Regions from separate parts of the Homo sapiens genome. Here region 1 is linked to region 2. Evidence: promoter capture Hi-C in 16 types of primary human blood cells and fetal thymus (Javierre and others, 2016). All regions are on one chromosome and are shown on one strand. Each heading gives the region's core, a stretch centred on a gene start or on the middle of the fragment in contact. The rest is flanking DNA. Distances are from core to core; before and after follow the strand shown. Region 1 overlaps CFDP1 (craniofacial development protein 1). Region 2 holds the start of BCAR1 (BCAR1 scaffold protein, Cas family member).

The links. Contacts are between HindIII fragments. The CHiCAGO score rates a contact against its expected background, and 5 or more counts as called.
Region 1: a fragment that was not itself captured here is called in contact with the fragment with the promoter of BCAR1 in region 2 in 15 of 17 cell types (endothelial precursors, M2 macrophages, M1 macrophages and 12 more); the score reaches 18.3 in endothelial precursors.

Annotation. Positions count from the first base shown.
Region 1 is chr16:75,367,995-75,375,613 of GRCh38, forward strand. The region is part of intron 5 of CFDP1 (craniofacial development protein 1); the gene reads right to left. Among named protein-coding and RNA genes, the nearest start is that of CFDP1, 62 kb to the right of the region's middle. The HindIII fragment of the contact is 1,901 bases long and covers 3,539-5,439 here.
Region 2 is chr16:75,249,703-75,257,301 of GRCh38, forward strand. It overlaps BCAR1 (BCAR1 scaffold protein, Cas family member), which reads right to left and starts at 1,922. Exons shown (of 7, transcript NM_014567.5): 1 at 1,769-1,922. The coding sequence starts at 1,780. LOC105371344 (a long non-coding RNA gene) reads left to right here and starts at 6,096. Exons shown (of 3, transcript XR_933740.3): 1 at 6,096-6,531. RefSeq lists silencers at 1,805-1,964, 2,025-2,134, 6,449-6,743 and enhancers at 2,134-2,674, 3,215-3,755, 3,756-4,295, 4,296-4,836, 5,376-5,916 and 3 more. The HindIII fragment of the contact is 27,287 bases long and covers 1-7,599 here.

The DNA.
Region 1 (7,619 bases), core at 3,239-5,738, 120 kb after region 2:
CTCAAGGGCTGAGGCAGAAGAATCGCTTGAACACGGGAGGCAGAGGTTGCGGTGAGCCAAGATCGCACCGTGCCCTCTGGCCACAGAGAAGACTCCATCTCAAACAAATAAAACAAAAAGATTTAACGGTCAAATGGAATATGTGGACCTTGTTTACATCCTGACTCAAGGAAAGTAGCTACAACAAAAAACTTACGATACAATTAAGGAAATATGAACACTGACTAAATACTGGATATCAAGAAATTATTATTATTTTTAGATGTAATAATGGTAATTGCTTTTAAAAGAATACTTTTAAGAGATATACACTTAAATATTTACAGCTAAAATCACAGCACGTTAAAGTTTTGCTTCAAAATATTCAGTGGAGGTTTTGGTGGTGGAGTGGATGGAGAGCTATCATAGATGATGTAAAATGGGACATGTGTTAAGTACTGAAGATTGGTTACATGCACATGGAGAGATTCATTATGCTAGTCTCTCTACTGTATGAAATTTTCCACAATAAAAAATAAAAGGGGTATAGTAATGTCTACCCGCAAAGATTTGAGTATTCAACTTGATAACACATATAAAGGATTTAATATAAAAGATTGGCAAAATATTGATAACTGTTGAAGTTTAGTGATGGGTACAGGGATTCATTATACCTTACACTTTACTTTTGTGTGTAGGTCTGATATTTTCTTTCTTTTTTTTTTTTAGACAGGGTCTCACTCTGTCAGCCTCAACCTCCTAGGCTCACGCAATCCTCCCACTTCAGCATTCTGAGTACTACAGGCACGTGCCACTACGCCCAGCTAATCTGTGCATTTTTTGTAGAGATGGAGTTTCGCCATGTGCCCAGGCTGCTGCAATTTTTCATAATAAAAAGTTGTTTGTTTGTTTTTTTTTAAGGAGTCTGATACTTACACATTTTCATTGTGGGTATCAGTACTTTCCTTTTTACATTTTTCAATAACTTAAAGAAAGTAAGGATAAAATGGAATAAAATATTCCAATACTTGCACAAACATGTCTTGCTTTATGAAGACCAAAACATTTATGTGGCCAATCAGCTAATGTATCAAATTCAAGGTTTGGTTAAAAATAGGCACATCAGAAATGTAAGTGTAATATGTGTAAATGAGTTGCTCAAAAGTCCAAAGTAAATACAGTCCTCCTCTCCTCAGTATAGTTTTTGAACGTAAATAAGACTGATTTCGTCAGGCATAGGAGAAATTATTTTTATTTAGGGAATAATAAAAAAAGTAGCTTAAAATACATATTGCAGGCCAGGCGCAGTAGCTCATGCCTGTAATCCAAGCACTTTAGGAGGTCAAGGCAGTATTGCTTGAGCCCAGGAGTTCAAGACTAGCCTTAGCAATATAGCAAAAGTTCGCTTCAAAAAAAACAAAAACAAAACAACCCACAAAAAAACAAAAAGCCAAAAAACCCGCACACTGCTATACAGAATTCTAGCTAGATGCAGGCTTCTGCTTTAACTATTATATACATTTAGACACATGGCTTCGCAGTAGGTTGCCTATTTATTCTCCAATAATCTAAACAGTGTATTGACAGAGACGTATGTGTCCACACTTGTTTCTTCTGATGAAACTGGAAAAGCAATTTGCAAATCTGTCTACCAGAAACAAAGAAAACTAAGTAAGACCAGATTATTCTCTAGTGCTCAGAGTCTCAACAGCAGGTTAAGGAACCAGAGTTTCCAAACTGGCCTCCTTTTGTTTGACCAACACTTTACTTACTTACTTACTGTATTTATTTGTTTATGAGACAGAGTCTCACTGTGTCACCCAGGCTGGAGTGCAGTGAAGCGATCTTGGCTCACTAAAACCTCCGCCTCCCAGGTTCACGTTCAAGCGATTCTCATGCCACAGCCTCCCCAGTGGCTGGAACTACAGGCCTGCACCACCAAGCTCAGCTAATTTTTGTATTATTATTATTATTATTTTTAGTAGAGACAGGGTTTCACCATGTCGTCCAGGCTGGTCTCAAACTCCTTACCTCAAGTGATCTGCCCACCTCGGCTCTCAAAGTGTTGGGATTACAGGCGTGAGCCACCATGCCTGGCCTTGAATTTTTTCTATTATTTATTACTTTTTTTTTTTTGAGGCAGAGTTTCGCTCTTGTTGCCCAGGCTGGAGTGCAATGGTGTAATCTTGGCTCACTGCAACCTCTGCCTCCCAGGTTCAAGTGATTCTCCTGCCTTGGCCTCCCAAGTAACTGGGATTACAGGTGCCTGCCACCACACCCAGCTAATTTTTGTATTTTTAGTAGAGATGGGGTTTCGCCATGTTGGCCAGGCTGGTCTCGAACTCCTGACCTCAGGTGATCCACTGACCTTGGCCTCCCAAAGTGCTGGGATTACCAACGTGAGCCACCACGCTCGGCCAAATTTTTTCTATTTTAAAAATAATGTGGAGGGAGGAATAGCATTAGGAGATATACCTAATGTAAATGATGAGTTGATGGGTGCAGCACACCAACATGGCACATGTATACATATGTAACAAACCTGCACGTTGTGCACATGTACCCTAGAACTTAAAGTATAATAAAATAATAATAATAATAATGTGTGGCAGGGTGCAGTAGCTGACGCCTGTAATCCCAGCACTTTAGGAGGCTGAGGAGGGCGGATCACCTGAGGTCAGGAGTTCCAGACCATTCTGGCCAACATGGCAAAACCCCGTCTCTACTAAACATACAAAAATTAGCTGGTGTGGTGGCATGTGCCTGTAATCCCAGCTACTTGGGAAGCTGAGGCACAAGAATCGCTTGAACCCAGCAGGCAGAGGCTGCAATGAGCCAAGATCATACCACTGCACTCCAGCCTGGGTGACAGAGCAAGACTGTCTCAAAAATTTAAAAAAAGAATTAAAAAAAACTTAAAGATCCATTTGCAGAAATCAACTCACTTGCAAAAGGACTTGCTTACTACAAAATTCAGGTTGGGATCTATCTCACTTTGTTAGTTTATTCATTTATCAAATATGCCCTATATGAGCATATACTGTGCCAAGTGCAGAAAAAAGCCAATTCCAGAATTGTAAAAAACAAACTATCACATGTTCATGTGGACTTCACTGTAGTGTTCCGCAGGGTTTCTTAACTTGGGAACTACTAACATTTTGAATAAGCCAATTCTTTGTTTCGAGCTGTCCTTTGTACCGCAGGATGTTTAGCAGCATCTCAAACTTTTTACCCTCTAAATGCCAGTAGCATCCCCTGCCTTGCCCAGGTTATACAACCAGAAATGTCTCTAGACACTGCCAAAAGTCCCCTAGGACAAATACAAGTTAAAACATTTTAAGTAATGTCAACATAATATGATACAATTTCATAATTATATATCTCTCTCTAAAGATGATTAAACACTGGCTAATGTCTTAAGTAAATAAAACTGTGGAGATTAAAATAGTGATGTCAAAGCAGATTAAGAAACCTGAATGGGGGGCGAGGTTAAAAAAACTGAACAAAGTTCTTATATATTCAAATGTTTTTTAAAAACTAACCTTAAGCGTTTTGGTTAAGCTTCCTTTGTAGTTGGGAAATTCCTGTTCTGCTAATTCAGGCTCTTTTCTAAAAACAGGTTTATATATTTTAGTACATAAAAATATTACTATAGCCTAACATTCATAGGAAGAATCTCTTGGTCTTTTCTGAGAACCTCTCAAGTGTTTTGTTACATATTAGAATAATCAGAGGAAAGAAAAGTAAGTGAATTTCAGTCTTGGTGTATTCTCCTCCAACTCAAAGGTTTCATTTAGTAGGAAGAGGATGAAAATGTTGATTAAATCTATATACGTTTTTAATAGTTTTAAGTTTCATTTATTTGTTAAGTCTACTGTTTCCTTGATGATTTTATAATTTCCTTGTCCTAATACGAACTAGTAAGTGAAGATCAACCTTGTTATTTAAAATAGGGAAAAGGGAAAAACTACTAATTTTCATTGAGTCCTTCTGTGCCAGGAACTGTAGTGACACCTTATCTCATTTCATTCTCAAAACAGCTCTATGAAGTAGGAATTATGATCCCTATTTTACAGCTAAAAGAATTAAGTAAAACTATTATTTGCACCAGGCAATCCTGTTCAAGTCAAAAGCATATATAATACTCTACCTATTTCTAAAAAAGGAGCCAGCAATAACCATGACAGCTTTCTCTTCCCTATACTGTAAAATATAAGAAGTCCAAAGTAATAGCTATAAGAAGGGTTTTAATCTGAAGAGTTTGACAGAGAACTAAGAATCCCCAAATAATCAAAAAGAAAAACTCATCACATCTAGTGGTAACAAAATTCGGATATATATGGTTTTCATATCTGTTCATGAATAACTCAACAATGGGCAGCAAAAACACACCCACAATTTCAAGACTCTGGCCAGGAGTGCTGACCAGCCTCAATAAAATGTCAGCTTGCTGCCAAAGGATCCAGATCAGTGGAATTGTCCAGTTCTCTAAGGAGACAATGCAGAGTTGCCTGCAGACTGGTTCTGAAATCGAACCAGAACTAGAACTTAAAAACAAAAAGCAGATCAATCTCTAGGCATCAAATTTCTTCTTCCTGAAAGAATAAACAGAAAACCTAAGTGAGTTATTCTAGCTGTACCTCAATCCAGGGTTTAGTCTGGAAGCCAATCTACTTGCTCAACTGTTTGCAAAGTTCATTCAACTCTTCCTCCCAGGTTTTGTTTCATGAGAGAAAAATAAAACCATCATCTTTTGGCAAGATGGAGTATTAACTTTTCTCCTGGTATTGCTGTCACTCACAGTTAAAAGAAAATGCACGCACACACAAATACATACCCTTTAAATGTCTAATTTAAATCCTAAATAACCCAGAGTACATGTGAGGGAGGAGAAAATAAAAGCCTTAGCAAGGAATATTTTAGTTCCAAAATTCTAAAGGCAAACTGCTAACTGAAAAGGGAAATTAACTTTATCAACTGTAAAAGAAAAAAATTCAACATCTTGTTGTTTTAAAGGAGTTCCCCGGCATGGAAGCAGATCATACACTTGATTCCTGATGCAGGAACTGAAACAACTCTGGCCCAGAGATAAAAGGGTGACAATTTGCTTGACACACCTATGCTGGAGCAGCTACTCCCATCTGTCTACTTTCCCTCCTTCCCCTAAAAGCTACTTAAGTCTCGGTTTATCCAGTTACATGTGCTAAGTGAAAAGAAGGCATAATTCCCAAGCCACGTTTTTGGAAATAACATGGTGACCCATTTCAACACTTACACACACAGATGTTAAATTAGCCAAAGTATATTTAAATAATCTCATCTCATTCATTCTTGCTAATGCTCATAGATTCATTATCGTATTGGACTTTCTTCCCACAAAATGACTGGCCTTATACCAAGTTTTATAAATATTAAAAAGGTTGTTTTGTACTAAAAAAGAAAATAACTGGAGGAGAGGGAAGCTTCTCAAAAGAACTTTCACATGGTGGGTAATATAAATGTCGCTAAGATAAGATACACAACGCTGGATTCTTTTTCTCTGTGACCCCTGCCCACCCCCCATTCTACCTAAACTCACTGTGTAACTAATCATGAACAAAAGAGAGGCACAGTTTGAATTTCAGCTAGAGATACACACTGTATTCAAAGGGTTTGCTTCCCTAAAGACTGTATTCTTTTTATTTTTATTTATTTATTTTGGTATGAACGGGGTCTCCCTATGTTGCCCTGGCTGGTCTGAAACTCCTGGCTACAAGACTGTATTCTGCTCTAGATACGAAGCCATTTTGTCCTTTACAAGGGAAGCCTTGACTTCCTCTACACAATTTACTAATCCTAATTGTAATAAGCATTTCCATTTGAGAAAAAAATTCTGGTAGGAATTGTATCATCTTTCTAAACATGAGGCAATCTTTACAAACATACTGTTTCTCAGAAAGAAAATGATAAAAAACCTAAATGTCTGTATAGGGAGTTAGTTTTGAAAATTATAGAACTGGCCAGGCACGGTGGCTCACACCTGTAATCCCAGCACTTTGGGAGGCCAAACCAGGTGGATCACCTGAGGTAAGGAGTTCAAGACAAGCCTGGCCAACATGACGAAATCCCATCTCTACTAAAAATACAAACATCAGCCAGGCGTGGTGGTGGGTGCCTATAGTCCCAGCTACTTGGGAGGCTGAGACATGAGAATCACTTGAACCCTGGAGGTGGAGGTTGCAATGAACCGAGATCGCGCCACTGCACTCCCGAGACTGTCTCAAAATAAAATAAAATAAAATAAATTATAGAATATTCAAAGTAGAACACTATACTAGCCATTAACAAGAATCAGATAAATGTATAGGCAATAAGATGAAATATGTTAGTATATGTATTTTTGTATTTTCAAGCAAAAAATACAAACTTCAGGAAAATAGGCTTAGATTACTCCATTTATATAAATAAAAAACACTTATATGTGAACAGAAAAGTATCTCATACAGATACACATTCATATACATAGATTACTAAATGCTTAGGGAAAGGTCTAGGACAGAGCTGTCAAATAGAAATAAAATGGGCGGGGCATAGTGGCTCACACCTGTAGTCCCAGCACTTTGGGAGGCTGAGAAGGGAGGATCAGTTGATCCCCGGAGTTTGAGACCAGCCTGGGCAACATAGTGAGACCCCATCTCTTAAAAAAAAAACACACAGAAATAAAATGGGAACCACATACCTAGTTTAAAAACATATTTTAGCCCTATTAAATATAAAAAGAAACAACTGAAATTGTTTTTAATACATTTAACCCAATATGTCAGAAATGTTACTGTTTCAACAATGGAACTGAAATAAAAATTGACTGCTTATTTTTTCTTACTAATTCTTCAAAATTTAGTGTGTATTTATACCTATAGCACATCTCAATTCAGACTGGTGGCATTTCAAGTGTTCAACAGCCACATATAGCTAGTGACTACTCTACTGAACAGTGGAGACCTTACAAAAACCCCACCAAATTATTAACTTTCATTTTGTCTTCTATATCTCTGTGTTGCTTGAATTTTTAGAAGAACACGCATATATTGCTTCTATGTTTCTAAAAAAAAAACCTAAATGTGTCCATATATGAAAATTAATTCAAGGTACAAAAAAAACCTAAACATAAAAGCCAGGACCATTAAAAAAAGGCAAAATCTTCTCAACCTTATAGGCAGATTTCTTAGGACACAAAAAGCACTAACTGTAAAAGACGAACTGAATATCAAAATTAAAAACTCTGCTCATCTAAACACACCACCAAAAAAATGAATAAGCAAGACAAACACTAAGAAAAATTCTTAGCATTTACATCTGACAAACTATCTATATTCAGAATATAAGAAGAACTCCTATAAACCAATAACAGAATAAAACAACCCAATAAAAATGGGTAAGATTGGAAGAGTCACTTTACACATGAAAAGATGTCATTATTATTAGTTTTCAGAGCAATGCAAACTAAAATCAGAGGAGATACCATTTCACACTTACCCAAATAAAAAAGACTGACAAGGCTGGGCGCGGTGGCTCATGCCTGTAATCCCAGCACTTTGGGAGGCCGAGGCGGGTGGATCACCTCAGGTCAGGAGTTCAAGACCACTCTGACTAATATGATG
Region 2 (7,599 bases), core at 672-3,171:
AAGGGTGGTAGGACCTCCTAAAGGGACAGCAGATGCCAGGAGAGGGCCGCAAAGGCACAGCGTTGGAACCAGAGGGTTCCTACCAAGTTGACAACTCCAAAAGAGCATGGTGGTCCCCCAAGGACCAGAGCTCCCCCAATCCCAGACTGGGAATTCGGAGGCCACATGTGGTGCTGCACTGGGGGGCCATGCCAGAAGACGAGGTTCTGGATCCAATTCTGAGGACAACTGACTGTCTCTCTGTACCTCAGTGTCCCCATCTGCACCATCCGTATAATGGGAAAGGGGTTTGAGGAGCTGTCTCAGGGCCCCTCCTGTACAGACAGGAGGCCCTAGTGGCACTGTCCTTATTTCCATCCCTCGCCTAGACCTGGGGCCATGGTACCAGTACACAGTGCTCACCCTCCTGCTCAGACAAACAGTAACGGCCAGAAGCTCCAAGCCTCCTGCCCCAGCCCAAGGTGACTTTCCTGGCAGAACCTGGGACTGCCCTGCCCTGCCCTGCCTCCACCCAGCTCCCGGGCAAGCAGTGCCAGGAGGAAGTGTCAGCAGCTCCTCCCCAAAGCTCTTTTCCCCACAGCCCCGCCACCCCCGTACCTGGGCCCCGATTCTCCAGGCACCCCGACACCTGCTCTCACAGGCCGGCCAGCCCCCACCACCCAACTCTCCACCGAGGGAAAGGAATGGGCACAAGAGGGGGCGTGTCCCGGCCCAGGGCGATGGGAAACATCTCACTAGCAAAGAAGAGATCAACCCATGGTCATTCTGAGAAGGTGACCAAAGCTGCGGCGGGCCCCGGGAGGGGTGTGGGAAAGGAAACCAGGGACTCTCAGGAGGGAACGGGAGCCTTGTGGTAGAAAAGGAGCTGCTGTCCCCGATCTGGAACTCGAAACCCCAACATCTTCCAGGCCGTAAGCCCCTCACCCCGCACCCCTAGGCAAATCTCCGCTTTCCCAACTCCCTCACCTCGGTCCAGCGATCAGCCTCTCGGACCCTCGAGAGGGAGCTCCGACCCTGCTCTAGCTCTTGCGGGTCCCCCAACCATGGACTCCAAAGCCTTCATGTCCACACTGCAGAACCCGGCCCTGGCCCCCTCCCGCGACACTCGCGTGCGGCTAGGACTCCTGTGGCCAGGACCCGGCTTCCACCGGCGCTCGGCGTGCGGGGCTGCAAAGCCCGCGGCGCGCCCGCCCCCACTCCCGCTCCGCTCCCGGAACCCCGCGCCGGCGGCCGGAGTGAATCATTAACTGGAGCCGGGTGCTCCGGCTGCGCAGCCTTCCCCGCTGGCGCCACGCACTTGCCCGCCCGGCCTCGGTCCCCCGGAGCTCCTCCCTCTCCGGGAGCCGGTGGGCAGTCCCCACGCCACACCAGCCGGACCACCCGCCAGAGGCTCAACGGCCCCTCCTCGCAGCCGAGGAAACTGAGGCTCGGAGGCAGGGCGCAGAGGCCCAAGGTGACACAGCAGGCGGCCGTCGGCCGGGGAGCGCGGGCCCCGCCAGCCACTTTCCCGACACAGGAACCCTCCTACCGGCTGGCGGCCCCCGCGCCCGGCCCCGCCAACGCACCCGAGGCGCACAGGCTCCGGAGCCCCCGCGGTTCCTGCCTCCCGGCTTCCCGGCCAGGGCAGAAGGAGATCCCAGGGCCGCGGACCCCGGCCGGCGGTTCCCAGGCCCCGCAGGTCCGGCAGGAAATGCCGCTCGCTTAACCCCTTCCAGCCCGCTGCCGCCTCCAAGCCCGTACGCGGCCCGGCCCCACCTGGCGCCCTCACCAGGTGGTTCATGGTGTCCGGCGGGCCTGGGGCCCCGGCTCTCGCGGGGGCGCACACCGAGCTGCCCGGGCCGCGTGCCCTCGGGGCTCCGAGCGCGCCGCAGCCGCCCCGGTGCCGCCGCGCAGCTGCCGCCTCGGCCACCCAGAGCCGGTCCAGCCGCTCTCCGCCTGCCGCCACGGCCCAGCCGGCCCAGCCCGATCCCAGCATGCCCGGCCGCGCGCGCCCATTGGCCGCCGCCGCTCTCCATGCAAATAAGCCGCCTGTCGGGGGCGCGGGCGCGCAGACAGAAGCCCGCCCAGTAGGGGCCGCCCCCCGCCCCGCCCCCCACCTCCAACCCCGAGGCTCCAGGCCCCTGCCCGAGGCCAGGCTTCCAGCCTAGGGCGCAGGACACCGCTCTCCAACAAATGCACGTCCCCGCCTTCCACCCAGGCGAGAACGCACCGAAGGCCTACGCAAACTCCTCCACTTCTGGGAAGGCTGCCCGGTTTGCCTTCTTCCTCCAGAGCCGAGACATGGCCTCAAGTCGACTTGTCTTTCCCGCTAACCAACCCCAGGGCATTCATCGCGTGTCCATGGGCCGTGGGACTCAAATCTGAATCTAGAGGGAAAGGGGAGGGGGCGTGCCCCAGCCTGTAGGAGACGAATCATCACCACCACAGCTCCGACTGTAGACGGTCCCACCGTGTAAGGACCCCAGGAAATGAAGCCTCAAGCAGGGAGGCTGGCGAGCTCTCGACCCAGCGCTTTTCACGGGCAGCACCTACCTTCCCCTGCATTGTGCCGACATCTGGGGACTCGGGCTGGTCCTCCAGCTGATCTGCCTCCTCTCATTACTCATTCCTAGGTTCAGCCTAAAACCTGGGCCTAGTACCCTCCTGAGTCCTGCTCCAACTCATCTGCTTCAGCGACATGGGGTAGGAGAGCGGCACTGGGGGAATGAGGGAGATAGAAGGAAGAATCACTCGGGGGAAACCGAGTGGAGACAACCTTGGCTCTCCTGAGTTGCCCCTTGCTCGGTTGCAGGTCAGTGACTGTCACCCCATGCAGCAGAACCAGGGTGCCAGAGCCCCTGGGCCAGGCCAGGGAGGCACAATCTGCAGGGAGATGATAGGACCGAGCCTGGTCCAGACCAGACAGGACCCTCAGTCAACAATCCTGGGCCACTGGCTGAGCAATGGGATGCCACGAGGCAGCCCTGGTGGCAGGGAAGCAGCGGGGTAGACCCGGCTTCACGCAGCAGAGAATTCTCAAGCATGGCCTATGGAAGACACAAGCCCAGGTGGGCCTGCAGCTGCCCCTCTGTCTGACCCCCAGGGCTCAGCCTACGCAGCGCCTGGCCAGATGTGCCACCTTGGCAGGCCCTCTCCCCTCTCTGGGCTCCTTTCTCATCTGAAAAGGGGCTAGGACAGCCCATGATTTGCTGCTCAGGTGCTCTGGGGAGCTAGTTAAAAAACAGACTCCTGTGTCCCACCCCTCCCAAAAAACTGGACGTCTGCATTTCTTCAATATTTGGCTTGGGAAGCATTGGCCAGAACTCACAGCACAGCGGGTGAGGAAGGAGCAGTGGGATGAGACAGAGCATGACCCAGAGTCCTCAGGAGGAACAGAACAGCTAGCCAACACCCTGTGCCTCCCCGACACAGCCCGCCTCGCCTCAGAAGAGGAGCCAGCCTTCAGGGAAGCTGCCTGGAGCATCTCCTCCTGCTTGTTCCCAAGAGCTGTGCCGGGCCCCTCCTGCACCCTGACCCTGTCCAGCCACCCACTCCTCAGCCTGGCTGGCACACCAGCTTCCCAGAGAGCAGGTCTGAACCAGCGGGACCCTCAGGAGCCTGAGGTCATCCCTGGGCCTCCACTTCTGTGGGGAGGGGAGACCAGGCCTCATGGGCAGGCAGTGCCCTGCTGGCAGGGCCCCAGGCAGCAGTCTCTGCAGGGACGGGCAAGGACACAAAAGGCCTGGCCCTCAAGGGAGCTGGCCCCTGCTCCATCCTAGTTGGCCAAGGAGGGCGGTGCAGAGAGGAGGTGGATGGCTGGAACCTTGGGGGATGAGACCCTCCTCCCCCAGTAGCTGCATTAGAACAGCACTGGGGGTGGGGCTGCTGGTGTGAGCAGGAGGCAGCAAGGGAAACAGGCTCCGACACAGGCATTTCAAAAATTTGCTCCTTTTCCACTTAAATTCCCTCCCCCAAAAGCCTGTGCCTCCCAGAATGGCATTTCCGCTTTGGAAACAAGGCCCCAGAAGTTAAGCCCCACAGTGTTGATGGGGATGTAGCTGGGGGGTGGGGGAGGAGCACCCACTGGCCAGGCTCTGGCCGGGGTATATGGGGGCAGAACCTCACCCCACCCCCAGTCCAGCCTCCCGGACCTCCGCTGTCAAGGACAGGGATGCAGCCCCACATACCCAGCACAGCCTCTGCGCCCAGCCAGTGCCAGGGGCCCTATGCCCATGCATTTATTTTGTGCACACAGCAATCCTGCAAAACAGGCTCACCGTTAGCCCCAATTTTTTTTTTTTTTGAGATGGGGTTTCACCATATTGGTCAGGCTGGTCTCGAACTCCTGACCTCAAGTGATTCACCCACCTCAGCCTCCCAAAGTGCTGGGATTATAGGCGTGAGCCACTGCACCCAGCCTAGCCCCATTTTTCACATGAAGAGACCGAGACCCAGTTTACCAACCACTGCCCCATCCCACACATTTCGGGGCACAGAAGGGACAGGGCCAGGGAAGAAATGGGGCTGCTAGACCTCAGCCCACCCTGCAGCAGGAAGGGAATCTAGGGACAGGGACAGCAGCACTCCAGGCTCAGAAAGCCAAACACCCCTGTCACACTCAGACTGCAAAAGGACAGGCAACTGAGACCTAAGCACCTTCCTCCCCAGTAAAACTGAGCTCAGCACTGGGGCCAGCACCACCCCCACCCCACTAAGTTTAGCCCCATTGGTGAGAAGGGGTGCAGTAAACATTTGTTGACTGGGTGGGACCTCAGAGGTGGCCCTCATGGGATAGGCTGGCCTGGGTGAAGAAATCTGAGGCTGCCCCAGTCTGGAGGATGGGGGTGGTTAAGTCACGCCTAAGTGCAGAGGCACACACTTGCATACACACAGCACACACGCATGCGTATACACACAGTGGGACTGGCAGCAAGGAGAGACGCCCTGAATAAGGAGGAGCTGGGAGAGGTTGTTGCCAGACCAAGGGAGACAGCTGCAGATATGTGGCCGGGGCACCAGCACAGGGCCCTCCCAGACAGTTGTGTCATCCCAGGAGTGGCCTGGCACCTCCAGCCAGGTTGAAGATGAGCTCACAGGCTGGAAGGGATGTCTCCAACCCCTCAGGGCCTGGAATAGCTGTTTGTACAGAAAACAGGTGGACCCAGCACACCAGGACACTAAGTGTCTGGAGTGGAGGGGGTTATACTGGACCCAAGTGGAAAGATAAGCCTGGGATAGGGTTCCTGCTCTTTGGGCTTTCTGAGATCTGCCTTCAGGACAGACCCACTGCACAGAACTTTTCTTGCTCAATGCTCACCAATGTCCACTGCAGCATTTATGACAGCAAAGCATGGAGCAAAACAGGCTCACCTATCAATGCTAATTCTAGGGGACCGGTGAGACAAACCACAGCGCCTCAGTAGAATAGCTTGCAGCTATTAGATGGCCTCTTCCAAAGACTGAAATAATGCAAGAAAATGCTTACAACAAACTAAAGTGAAAAGAGCAGGCTAAAACCAGTTTGCACAGTGTAAAGGCACACAGCCCCCTCCCCTCCTGAAGCCTCGGCCTCCCAGCAGCAGGGAGGGTGGACTCGGTTGATGGCCAGCTCTGGGAGCGGCAGCAGGAGAGGATTTCCTGAGGCCGGAGGTGAGCACTGCCAGCCCCAGGAACAGGAAGAAACGGTATCTCTGGAGGGCCAATGAGAGCTGACACCATCCCCCTAGGCTGGACACTCACAGTGGCAAGCTCAAAACCAAGGCAAGGCTGGGCAAGGTGGCTCACGCCTGTAATCTCAGCACTTTAGGAGGTCGAGACTAGCCTGTCCAACATGGCGAAACTCCGTCTCTACTAAAAATACAAAAATTAGCTGGCCGTGGTGGCGGGCACCTGTAATCCCAGCTACTCAGGAGGCTGAGGCAGGATAATTGCTTGAACCAGGAGGTGAAGCAGTGAGCTGAGATCACGCCACTGTACTCCAGCCTGGGCGATAGAGCAAGGCTCCATCTCAAAAAAAAAAACAAAAAACAGCTGGGCACAGTGGCTCACGCCTGTAATCCCAGCACTTTGGGAGGCCAAGGCGGGCAGATCATCTGAGGTCAAGAGTTCAAGACCAGCCTGACCAACATGGTGAAACCCCGTCTCTACTAAAAATACAAAATTAGCCGGGCGTGGTGGCACATGCCTGTAATCCCAGCTACTCAGGAGGCTGAGGCTGGAGAATCACTTGAACCCGGGAGGCGGAGGTTGCAGTGAGCCAAGATGGTGCCATTGCACTCCAGCCTGGGCGAGAGAGCGAAACTACGTCTCAAAAAAACAAAAACAAAACCCAGGCGAGGGCACGGAACCTTTGTGGATAGCACGGAGGTGAACCTACTGTCACACACAGAACGGACAGCCCACACCCCAACACCAGTCATTCCTCACTGCTGCCCTGGGACCAGGACGGAACGACGGCTACCTGGAGGCAGAGAGAGGGGCAATGCCCCACGCAGCTCCCATGGCCAGCAGAGCTCGCACCTTCCACCTCATAACCCAGGCGTGTGCCTACTGGTAAGCACCCCAGGTGACCCCAGACCGCAGAGCATGCACTCAGGACTCAAGCTGGAGCTGTTACCATAAAGGGCTTCCCATCCTCCACTGCGGGGCAGTGTTTGTCATTACCAGTAGTGGCTCTGACTGTGGGAAGGTGGGCGGGCCCTATAGCCTGAAGCCAAATCCCTCCAGTGGTCATCCCCTTTGGCATGCCCAAGGCCAGTCCCCAGAGACCCGGGGGCAGGGGCAGTATCCAAGGTGTGTGGGCAGAGCTGCCAGGTAAGGGACACAGCACGGATGGGGGGGGGTGGGGCCTCCCTGCACTCCAAGTCCTGGCCTGCATCCCACTAAATCCAGCCCTACGCCTCCACTTCAGGCCTGTCAGAAACAGGACTGGAAGAGGCAGCACAACTTTCCAAATTATCTGGAAATTAACAAGCAGCAGAGGCCCCTGCCGTAGGTGCCTGCCTCAGAGAGGGGCTCAGCTCACAGCCGCCCGAGGCCGGTGTGAGCCAGCAAGGCAGCCCCAGGGTGCCGTTCAGAGGCTCTCCGCCCACCCCAGCAACCCCTTCCTCTTCTGCACCCTCCTCTCTCAGCTCTCCCCTCCTGCCCAGCCTCCTGGGGCTGGCAGGTGGGGCAGGCACCAGCACAGGGCCCTCCCAGACAGGTCCTCCTGGACCAGCGGCACCCCTGTGTGCAGTGAGGAGGGGCCATGTGCACTCTGCCCCGCTGCTGACCACCAGGTCCTCCTCCTGAATCTGCGCCCTATGGCAGAGGCAGCCCCTCAGCACTGCCTGGGGGAGGGGGAAGAGAGGGGCTCAGTCCTGGCTGGAAGGGGGAAAGAGGGGCAAAGGGGCAAGCTCTGTCCTCGTCCTCAGAGAGGAAGCTCCATGGCTGGGGGCTGCCCAGCTCTCCACTGACTGGCCGGGTGGGCAGGGATGAGGGTGTGGTCAGGAGGCCTCCCCAGCCCAACCCAGCCCAGCCATCTGCTCTCCCATGGCAACCAACCCCAGTGTACTGGGCGGAGGGGGGTGACTTCACACATCATCTGCTGCCCACTCCCGGCCGCTTTCATAGAACACAGGG